Linked DNA regions of Homo sapiens: regions 1 and 2 are each linked to region 3. The links are contacts of gene promoters, found by promoter capture Hi-C in human tissues and cell types (Jung and others, 2019). All regions are on one chromosome and are shown on one strand. The core of a region is centred on a gene start or on the middle of the fragment in contact, and the rest is flanking DNA. Distances in the headings are between cores, read along the strand shown. Region 1 overlaps ZBTB25 (zinc finger and BTB domain containing 25). Region 2 overlaps ZBTB1 (zinc finger and BTB domain containing 1). Region 3 holds the start of AKAP5 (A-kinase anchoring protein 5).

What was found. The method cuts DNA at HindIII sites, captures the fragments that hold promoters and counts their contacts. A contact is called where the count stands out against the background at its distance.
Region 1: a fragment that was not itself captured here is called in contact with the fragment with the promoter of AKAP5 in region 3 in 8 of the 25 tissues and cell types used here (H1 embryonic stem cells, aorta, hippocampus and 5 more).
Region 2: a fragment that was not itself captured here is called in contact with the fragment with the promoter of AKAP5 in region 3 in 1 of the 25 tissues and cell types used here (hippocampus).

What each region holds. Positions count from the first base shown.
Region 1 is chr14:64,496,746-64,500,361 of GRCh38, reverse strand. All of the region lies in intron 1 of ZBTB25 (zinc finger and BTB domain containing 25), which reads left to right. Among named protein-coding and RNA genes, the nearest start is that of ZBTB25, 5.3 kb to the left of the region's middle. The HindIII fragment of the contact is 7,112 bases long and covers 1-3,616 here.
Region 2 is chr14:64,521,942-64,525,327 of GRCh38, reverse strand. ZBTB1 (zinc finger and BTB domain containing 1) reads right to left here. Exons shown (of 2, transcript NM_001123329.2): 2 at 377-3,386. The coding sequence ends at 1,682. All of the region lies in intron 2 of HSPA2-AS1 (HSPA2 and ZBTB1 antisense RNA 1), which reads left to right. Among named protein-coding and RNA genes, the nearest start is that of HSPA2-AS1, 17 kb to the left of the region's middle. The HindIII fragment of the contact is 4,162 bases long and covers 1-3,386 here.
Region 3 is chr14:64,464,235-64,467,781 of GRCh38, reverse strand. It overlaps AKAP5 (A-kinase anchoring protein 5), which reads right to left and starts at 2,283. Exons shown (of 2, transcript NM_004857.3): 1 at 2,169-2,283. It also overlaps a transcript of ZBTB25 not described here. RefSeq lists silencers at 2,009-2,078, 2,089-2,488. The HindIII fragment of the contact is 11,787 bases long and covers 1,247-3,547 here.

The sequences.
Region 1 (3,616 bases), core at 429-2,928, 33 kb before region 3:
ATGTTTTATTTTTTCTGAAATCTCCAAGCACTTTAAGCAAAGGTTTTTATTAGCCCACTTGAGTAGTGTGTTCATGGGAGTATACTTCCATTGCGAAAGAAGTATTGGTTTACTTGTATCCAGAAGTTTTAGTTACTCTTGCCTGTACTGTATTCTAGGTCTGTACTAGCATTATAATTTTCCATCTTTCTCCTGTCCTTTGAGTACCTTATTTTTTCTTTTAGAAATTTGGTTTGTCTTTAATGGACTGAGAGGAATCTTTTCCTTTCTTTCTCCGGGTTCTGATTTTTTTTAAAGGTCTATTAACAATTTGTGCTTACTGTTGTTAGTATTCTTGTGTGCTTGGCTTTATCAGGCATCCTACAATGTAATGTTGGTTAGATGGGAATTAGAGGTGCTTGGAGGTTGGCTATGTCTGCCAACAGGCAGGAGGCCCCAAACTAACGTTTCCCAGTTCCATTAAAGGTTTCTAGAGCATAACTACTCTTCCTGTTTCATCTACCCCCTCCATACCCTCTTTGCTAACATTCTCAGTAGATCTTAATAAGCAGATGTCTGGAATTACAGCAGATTTTACCTCAAACAGTATTTTCAGATTTAGAATTTCTGTATCATTTTTAGGTGTTATGAAATCCAATCTAGGTGTAATGGAGTAAGAGAGTAAATATTTCTTTTTCCTAAATACTATTTGAAAAGAAGTCTGAAAATAGTGTGTTCCTCCACCCCCCCACCCATGCCCATCCTGCCAGTTTAGGAGCACTTTTGATTCTTTTTTTTCTTTTTCTTTTTTTTTTTGAGATGGAGTTTCACTCTTGTTGCCCAGACTGGAGTGCAATGACACAATCTCAGCTCACCACAACCTCTGCCTCCTGGGTTCAAGCGATTCTCCCGCCTCAGCCTCCCGAGTAGCCGGGATTATAGGTATGTGCCACCACACCTGGCTAATTTTGTATTTTTAGTAGAGACGGGGTTTCTTCATGTTGGTCAGGCTGGTCTCGAACTCCCGACCTCAGGTAATCCACCTGCCTCGGCCTCCCAAAGTGCTGGGAGCGAGCCACCATGCCTGGCCATGGAGCACTTTTGTTTCTTAATCTGGCCAATATTTTAAGGTTACAATTAGAATTACAGTTGTTTATATTTGTTCATTTAATGTAGTCAACATAATTTCCATACTTTGAACACTCTTACGGAATTGTTTATTTATAGAGACTAGTATAAAGTTGTTCTATCTTACTTAGTTTGAACTAATCCAGAGTTATACAATCTAGAAAGTAAAGAAAGTTTTTATTGTCTCTTAAATATCAATGTAATTGTAGAGTGTGAAATAATTTCTTGGGTTTCCTTGGTCCCGTGTTCTTCTGAGGCAGTGGTTCTTAACTGAGCAGTCACGTTAGAATCACCTGGGAAGCTTTTTAAAAAAAGAATCTGGGCTGGGCGCGGTGGCTCACGCCTGTAATCACAGCACTTTGGGAGGCCGAGGCGGGTGGATCATGAGGTCAGGAAATCGAGACCATCCTGGCTAACACAGTGAAACCCCGTCTCGACTAAAAATACAAAAAAATTAGCTGGGTGTGGTGGTGGGCGCCTGTAGTCCCAGCTACTCGGGAGGCTGAGGCAGGAGAATGGCGCGAACCCGGGAGGCGGAGCTTGCAGTGAGCCGAGATCGTGCCACTGCACTCCAGCCTGGGCAACAGAGTGAGACTCTGTCTCAAAAAAATAAAAATAAAAATAAATAAACAAATAAACAATCTGGCCGGGAACAGTGGCCTACGCCTGTAATCCCAGCACTTTGGGAGGCCAAGGCAGGCGGATCGCCTGAGGTCAGGAGTTCAAGACCAGCCTGGCCAACGTGGCGAAACCCCATCTCTACTAAAAATATAAAAATTAGCCAGGCGTGATGGGCACCTGTAATCCCAGCTACTCAGGAGGCTGAGTCCGGGAGAAGCACTTGAACCCAGGAGGCGGAGGTTGCATTGAGCCGAGATCGCGCCATTGCACTCCAGCCTGCAGCCTGGGCGACAGAGCGAGACTCTGTCTCAAAAAAAAAAAAAAAAGAATCTGTGCCTCACCCCTAGCAATTCAATTCTGTTTGGGCTAAGCCTGGGTTGGGACTCAGACATCAATACAGCTCTGCATAGAAGGTTTTACAGTATAGTCAGCAATAAGAACCTCTGTTTCAGGATAAAATGATTTCTACAAACATTGTTTCATTCTCTACATAATTAAATGTCACACCTCTACAGTCATGTGAAAGTTCCATTAAAAAGTTAGTCGCTATATAAAGTCTTTTATCATATGGCACTTGAAATATTTTGCTTTTGCCTTTGTATTTATAGCCATGAGTAAGTAGCTCAAAAAAGATGTACATATTCCTCTGCCAACTTTCCTGTCTCCTTGTCTGAATGAAAATTCATCATAAAGTCTCAGTGGTAAGCATTGACAGAGAAAATACCTAAGACTGTTTTCCTACAGAAACAGTCGTCTTGCTCTTTTTGTTCCTTTTTTATTAAGGATTCTTACAGCCTGAGAGAATGAAGAGCTGTGTAGTCCAGGATATCCGGCTGGCTACCATAGATCTGAGAGTCCAGTCTAGTACAGTAGATTTTTCTAAATACATAAGAATCAAAGATATGTATTGAATATCAAGCCAGCTTTAAACAAACATAGATACTAGTATAAAGTTGTTCCATCTTAATTTGAAGTAATCCAGAGTTACTACAATCTAGAAGGTAAAGAAGGTTTTTGTAATCTCTTAAATATCAATGCTAAAACTATTATGATAATGTATCACTTTGATAACAGATAAAACTTTTAAAAATGTAGCACTCATATTTTGATTCTGGTATTTATAAGTATAATAAAATACTTTATTTTTCCATAATTTCTCTCACATCTTAAAATTCTCACCAGAAATTCTCAAATGTAACTTCTAAGCTCTTTCTGTATTCATGGGAAACTTTAGCTATTTCACATACTAGAGAAAATAAAATAGACAGTCAAAGAATGATGAGCAAAGGCTATACAAAAAGTCTAGCTAATAATTTGCAGAGTAGGTTGTATTAGAAAATGTTCTAATAACTCAATGGAATGGGGCTATTGATTTGAAGTAAAATCTGGTATATTACAACATCAAAGATCTCCTATTATGCAAAACAAGTTTGAATGCACCTCATGTGTACTTGGTGTTTTTTTTTTAATAGATTTTAATTTGTTTCATTTTATACACTTGAAAAGTTTACTCCCTTATTTGATTCAACATATTTGCAAAATCTGCCAACAGTGTAAATGTTGAAAGTTCTAGATGGGGTTTTGAAGAAAGGGCCCTGGGTTTAAACTCAGTCTTGATGTATTATCAGCACCATTTAATAGCTAGTTGTTTGACTTCAGGTATGTTTCCTGCCTTCTCTGAGCCTGTGGTTTCTCAGCCATAAAATAGAGCTGATAGTACCTGCTCTACTACCTCACAAGATTTAAAAGAAAAAAAGATAGTGTAGGGCAGTGGTTCTCAAAGTGTAGTCCAAGGAGCCACTGGAGGTTTCATGGGTCAATAAGGATCTCCCTTATGTAAGAACAGATTCTCAATATACTTGAACCAAAACAAGAGATGACAACAGAT
Region 2 (3,386 bases), core at 563-3,062, 58 kb before region 3:
TTTTTAATTTTTGTGTGTATTCTACCCGTCCCCTGCCTACTTCCCGTTATTTGAATTCTGCACTTGGTTCCTGTGCTGTTCCTATCCTTACTTAACACTTCAACATATCCCCACAAATCTGAGCTCACATGGTGCTCTAATGCTTTCAACTAAATCTGTACTCACCAGTATGTCTCTCAGTTCTTTTGGCAACTTGTTCTTTTATGTAAATTGTATACAAAATATGATTTGCATATTTTAAATATGATGTGAACAAAAAGAGCAATGCTATTAGTGTTCAGAATCACAAATTTATATTTTTAAAATTAGGAGTTAATTAAAATCCCTTTCATTATGAAAAGGGTACTACATTGCAAGTAATTCACATTAAAAGGCATTCTATTCAATAGATGTGTTTATTGGTGGGTCAGTTTTGCCAATGTTTTAATTCACATGTAATTATGTAGACCCTGTGTCAGCAACAACTAACAATACTACTACTTTAACTGAAAAAATGATAAACTGTTTCCATTGATATACTCTGTGATTATTTTATAATCCTCAAGTTTTATAGTCTTTTACAGAAAAAAATGATAATAAAATATGGCGATAAACTGCAATTTGCCACATTTCCTCCAAATCTTAGACAGTATAAAACACAAGACATTTTTTTGTGCACTCTACTTTTATAGAACAACCAGGTTTATAATTGATCTCTTTATTTTATTAGATTTATCAATATACATGGAAGCTTTCTCAAATCTCAAAGTTCCAGAAGTATGTATTGTAAAAAATCATCTTTTCCTTTAGAGGTCATATTCTTAGAGAGCTATTAAAGTCTATTTATAAACAAAAATAATTGATAAGCTAACACACTTTAGAAATCAGAATATTTTAAATTAAAATATTTTTAATGAATACAAGATATGTCTTTTTAATTAACTATCATAGTTAAATTTAATATCACAAAACAAAATGGCTTATCCCCACTAATTTTTCAAGTGAGGTAAAGCCACTGGAATTTACACTTAATATAAGTTTTAAATGTGATAATTAAATGATAATATTTTATCAATTATAGGAAATATTCATTTATAAAAATTTCCTCAGGTTCATCAATCTTTTTAGGCCAAGTTTGAGCCCATGTCAACCTTAAAGGTTAGATTCAGTGCACCTAACTTGCCTAATAAGCTTGTCAATTTAAGAATATGAATTTCATTAATAAGGGGGAATAAAGAGTAGTTAACTCACTAAAAGCAAACGGGATAGTTTCAAATAATTACTTAAGGAATTTTTAAAATTTAAACAGAAATGGCCAATGATTCTGGGTTTAAAATTTCACAGGATAACCTTAAAAAAAAAAAAACACATAGAAATAGTGAAGTCATCACCTTATTGATGAAAAACTAAAGTTTAATAGTCATTGAATGGGTAACAACCACTTGTAGTCTACATTTAAAAATTTTAATCATAGCTAAGAAAAACTAAAAACAAATAATTCTATTAAGAAACAACAAAAATGATAAACATTTAATACCTAAATGTAGATACTTAAAATCCTAAACAAAAATATTAAAGTTAAAAGGGCCTTGAAATTTGTTTCTAACAAATCATCTTATATAATCAATTCCTAAATAGCTCATATCCTTTGCTTTGGTGTTTTATCTGCTATCATCTAAACATTAGTACAGTAGAAAATCACTCAGGTTCTTTTCAAATGCTTGGCATTATAATGTGATCTCATATCTTTCCTCAAATTAAATTTTGCTCCACATATTCCACATGTATACAGATGAACATCCATGTGCTGCTCCAACTGTTCATTATTTGGGAATATCTGAAAGCAGACCTGGCATATAGTCTCACCAGCAGATAAATGAGAAATCATATGCCGTACATGGTCATGTTTTCTGAAGTTTCCTTGATCACAAATGGAACAGACATACCTGGCCATGCCTTTGTGCATATCATTGTGCAGTCGCAACTGACGCTCTCTTAAAAACTGCTTTCCACATGTTTGACAAACAAACTGTTTTTCCTTAGTATGAACAGTATAGTGTTCTCTTAAGTGACACCGCTGATAAAATCCTTTTCCACACAGATTACAAAAATGCTTTCGTCTGTGATCTCTTTCATTTTCTTCCATGATGGCACTCTTAAACATATCTTGATCTAAGCAGCTAGACATATGTTCAACCACTAGATTTTCAGTTTCAAAACGCTGGCCACAATTAGGACATCGAAAAGGGCAGGCAGAATGTTTAAATAACTGCTTTTTTTGGATACTGTTTATCTGGTAATGATTGTCCCTAAAATCATCCAGCATTTCAACAAACATATCTCTTATTTCGGACTGCTCATCAGGATTCTCTTCCAAGTCCATTTTCTCCTCAGTATTTCCTAACCCATTCATGGTCAGATCTTGGGGCTCGCCACATCGTTGAGCATGTTCCTGAAGCTGCCTACCCTTTACAAGTATTTGTCCACATTTACCACATGCACAGATATTTTCAATGTGTTTGGCTAAGTAATGAGATGACAGGTCCTCCTCGGTTATTGTAAGTCCACACAGCTCACAAGATGCATTTTCAGCATCCTCTTGTACTGGACTGCTGTTGTTAGGGGGCCTCATATTCTCTAAACCACCTCTTTCATCAGCACTTACTGACATTCGAGGTTTTAGAGTTTTCCTACCACTTTTTTTTATGCTGACATCTTCTTCAACATAGTATCTATAAAATGGCTCTTCAGGTTCATCTTCTAATTCATCATTGTCAGTGGATTCATTACAGTCTTTATCAGTAACTTTAATAATGTTAAAGTCTTTCAGTTCATCTGTAGGAATATCTTCTGGCTCCATCTTAATAATAATCCTTTTCCTCTCAGCAGCTCTGCTTTTCTCTTCGCTTGCTATTTCAGACTCCACTGTGCTACTTTTTCTGCTTCCAGTGGTTGAAGCTGAATCATCAGCAGCCTGGCTTGTGTCTCCTCTGTATTTGTCCGTCTGTGCAGAAAATGTTTTGGAAGAATCTTTTTCACCAAATTCAGCTTTGATGTTACTGTCTTTTCCATCTCTAATATCTACTATTCTATGGTAAGATCTTGTGTTTTGGTATAAATGTCTGTTAGTACAGGTTAGCACATGCTCATCTAATAATTTTTCACAGCTAAAGCCAAATCCACAGCTATCACAGGTAAAACTCCGCCCAAAGCGTCTTGACACACGTTCTTTTGGAGTAGATAATTTGGACACGGAACTTTTTTTACATACATCAAATAGTGGCTCAGGAAAATTACCTAATTGTAAAGACTCTTCATCAGCCTCTCTATTATGTGGTGTATTTACCGTTGAACTTGGCTCTGCACACCACCTGTTGGCTTCATTGCCATTTCGAGCCACAGTATCT
Region 3 (3,547 bases), core at 1,034-3,533:
TAATCTTTATCACACTCAATAGATAATTTTAAAGCTGCAAAGGACTTTAGAGATTATTTGAGATTACTCAAATCCAGCCAGATGACAAAACTGAACTCCAGAGGGGAGCAGTTGTCTTGTCAAAAGCCATGCAACTAGATAAGGTCATAGCCAGAGTTAGAACTAGAGACTTTGACTCTCTAGTTTTACCATTATAACATAAGGTTTCTGTTCTAAAAATGTATGTTCCATCAAGGAAGTGCTATTTTTCATACATATTCTTAGGAAAATTTAGCATTACTGTCATTTCCCACTCTTAAATTAGTTGTACAATTTTGACATTTTCATTTAAGTACTGTATCTGCTGTATCACATGTTTCCACCATAATCTGCACATAGTTGGAAGTCAGTAAGAGTAGTAATAGCTGACATTTATTGAGCAATTCTTGGGTATTAGGCAGTGCATGCACTTTTACATACATCTCTAATCCTCACCACAATATTACAAAGATGGTGGTATCACCACGTACAGATGAAGCAATTTGGCTGAGATTACGGCAGAGCTGTAACAGAGCTCAGATTAACACAAGATTGCTTGTTGCTTAAAGCTTATGTTCTGAAACTGGGCTTTAAGAGTTTCGTCAGAAAATGAATTGTTTGGGGATACTAATCTGCAGTGTTTCATTAGTAAAAAAATTAAAAAATTGATTAATGGTCATTTAACCATAAGGCACTTATCAACTCATAATTGAACCACGAGTAGACTGAGTTCTTGTCATTTGAAAACCAAGCTTTTGAAATTCTTTATATTTTATTTTTTTGGTTCAGGAACTAATTTAAAAGCCAAAAATAAGTTGGCAAACTATGCAATTGGCAAACTTAGATAATATAAAGGTGTATTGAAAATTTAATCCTTAGAATGGTATGATGGCACCAAAGAATGGAAATGGGAGGTGATTATCCAACAAAGATCCTATGAATTTTAGTGGGTGGATGCCCTAAAATAAGCAAAGGGACTCATTCTTTATATTGTTTTTATGTAAATCCTTCACTGAAGTTTCATTTGGGTAACCCATAATTTTATGAACTGTAGAAGGAACTGGAACCCTGAAAATCAGTTTATGATCTAAGTAAATATTATCTTAGGTTGGGTGTTTCATACTGTGTGCCTCTAACAGAAAGATAAAGTCATTCTAGAACAATGACGGAACTAAAATATGAACATTTGACAGTGTTTCTCCTCACAATGTTTCAGTGAGCACTAGAACCTAAGCTGATAACTGTTTAAATCTTCTCACCTCTTGTGAGTTTTCAGCACCTGAGCATTTTTGTTAAGCAGAGGCTGTATTACCACATAATAGAAATATTGAAATGAGATGTTTAGGAGTCTGTCATTGGAAACTAACCTGGATTGCGCAAAGACAATCGTTTGAGAAGCTCACTTGAATGTATCTCACATACTAGAAATAAAACGAATACCCAAACAGAAACTTAACTAACGAGGGAAAATAATGCAGTCTGTAGACAATAAAACTTTGCAGAATGTCAGACTGCAAATGATTCGCTCTTAACCAGCAAGGGTAGCTTTATCGCCTCAGGAAATCTTAAAGTCCCTGTGCTCATTTCCTGATGGAATTGCAAGTCTCATGTCACAGAAAACACCCCCTTTCCTTTTTCCCTTGAGCAGCCAGTACCCGAGGAAAGCAATGCATCTTTCCCAGCACCAGATACGGACCACGAAGCTTCCTCCTGGAGGAAGGAATCTCGAATTCTGGCTTGACGCCCCTTATGGCAGGAGACAGAGCGCAGGATAAAGTACTCAAAAAGGAAAATGCCGGGGGCGTGGAACAGATAACCCAGCTTCAGGCTGTCTGCAGAATTATAATGTAATGGCCAGAAACCCAAAATCACATTTCTCAAAGAGGGATAAAGAAGGAAAAAAGCCACCGGCAACCCATGCTTCTAAGACAAGCTGTAACGCGAAGGGGATAGGTGGGCAGACCTGATGAGGGTCGCCCTGGCCGCGGATTCCAGCGGACAAGCGACCTCCCGCGTTCTTACTCCCAGCACCTCAGAGGGCTCGGATACCCCGTATCCAGTGGGCACCTCTTGCCCACTCCGCGGTCCGCGGACCGGACATTGCCCCCGACCCTCCTCCCCCGCAGGCTCCCCGCCCTGCCTTTACTTACGTAGGGCGTCGGGGTCCTTGGCCAACACTGCTCCCGAGGTGGCGGCGCGCTCGCGGGGCCCGCCGCCCAGGCCTCCAGGGAGCCGCGGTCGCACCCGGAGCAAGGCGCCCTCTGCAGAGCCCGCCGCCGGGTGCGCCCCCTCCCCACCGCGCGGGGACAGACAGCAGGCAGCGCCAATGCGAGCGGAGCGGAGCGGGCGGGCAGGGGCGGGGCGACCGCCGGAGGCGCGGGGCGGCGCGGGCGCCGGGACCCACCTGCAGCAGCAGCCTGCCTGCCTGCCGCGGGGAAGCCCATCGTGCTCCGCCCGGGCGCCAATCTCCACTGCCAGACCACATCAGCGCCGAGGCGGGGACCGCAAGAGAGCCAGCCGGAAGGTTCGGGGGGCGGGGGAAGGCGGGGGGGACCAGGGCAATGAACCCCGCGTTTTCTGAGACGCTAAATAGTGAGGTCCGGTTTCAAATTATAGACAGTCGCATTACACATCTCCTCTCCTCCCCCTCAGAATATTTAAAGACAAGGCAGACATCGCATTTTAAAAGCAGGATTCAAAACTGTGCATAGAATAGCGAGGTCATGTTTGTTTGAAGCGAAAATTACATATATAAATGGAAACAGAAAGAAACCCGACTTTCTCAGGAGTGGCTTGAGTGTCAGATCATCGTGGTTCATCGCCAAACAGGCTTTCAAACCTTTGTCTCCCAGTGGGAAGCAGGTGGAGGTGATTGGTGCAGAACTTTGGCCTGCAGGAGCAGCTGCATCTCTATGCGGACAAGGTGAGAAAGGCACAGGAACCCAGCTCCATCCATCTTATACCTTACATAGTTCCAAAAATAAGTTGAGGTAGCTTACAAGTTACCCATGATTCCCTTCAGGACATTCCCTATGAGGGCATTCCTGGGAGCTCCAGCTGTAAAATCTAGTAGGATCCATCACAATCCCAGCCTCCTCCTCTGGCCCCCATAGCATAGCATCCAGATGAAGAACCTGGTAAGGTGAAGTGAAGAACTACTGAAAAGCAGCCGCGTTCATCTCCTTTCTTCAACAGGATCACGACCTTAGGGAGTGTAAATGTCAGGTGTCCATTTTTGTATTTTTTCCGGAAATGTTTTATATTTGTAAGATTCTGTAGTTTCCACAGAGGCTTATCAAGGAAAGAACTCTTGAGACACAAAAGCAAAGCCAAATATAAGCTGTCAAGATCTTAAAATTACAGATAAAAGAGGCAAGAGTTGTAAAACAGGAAAATCCATAAGCATCTAGTTTAGTTGTAATTAAGAATTCAGGGATGGGCGCAGTAGCTCACACCTGTAATCCCAGCACTTTGGGAGGCCAAGGCAGGAGGATGGCTTGAGTCCAAGAGTTTGAGACCAGCCTGGGCA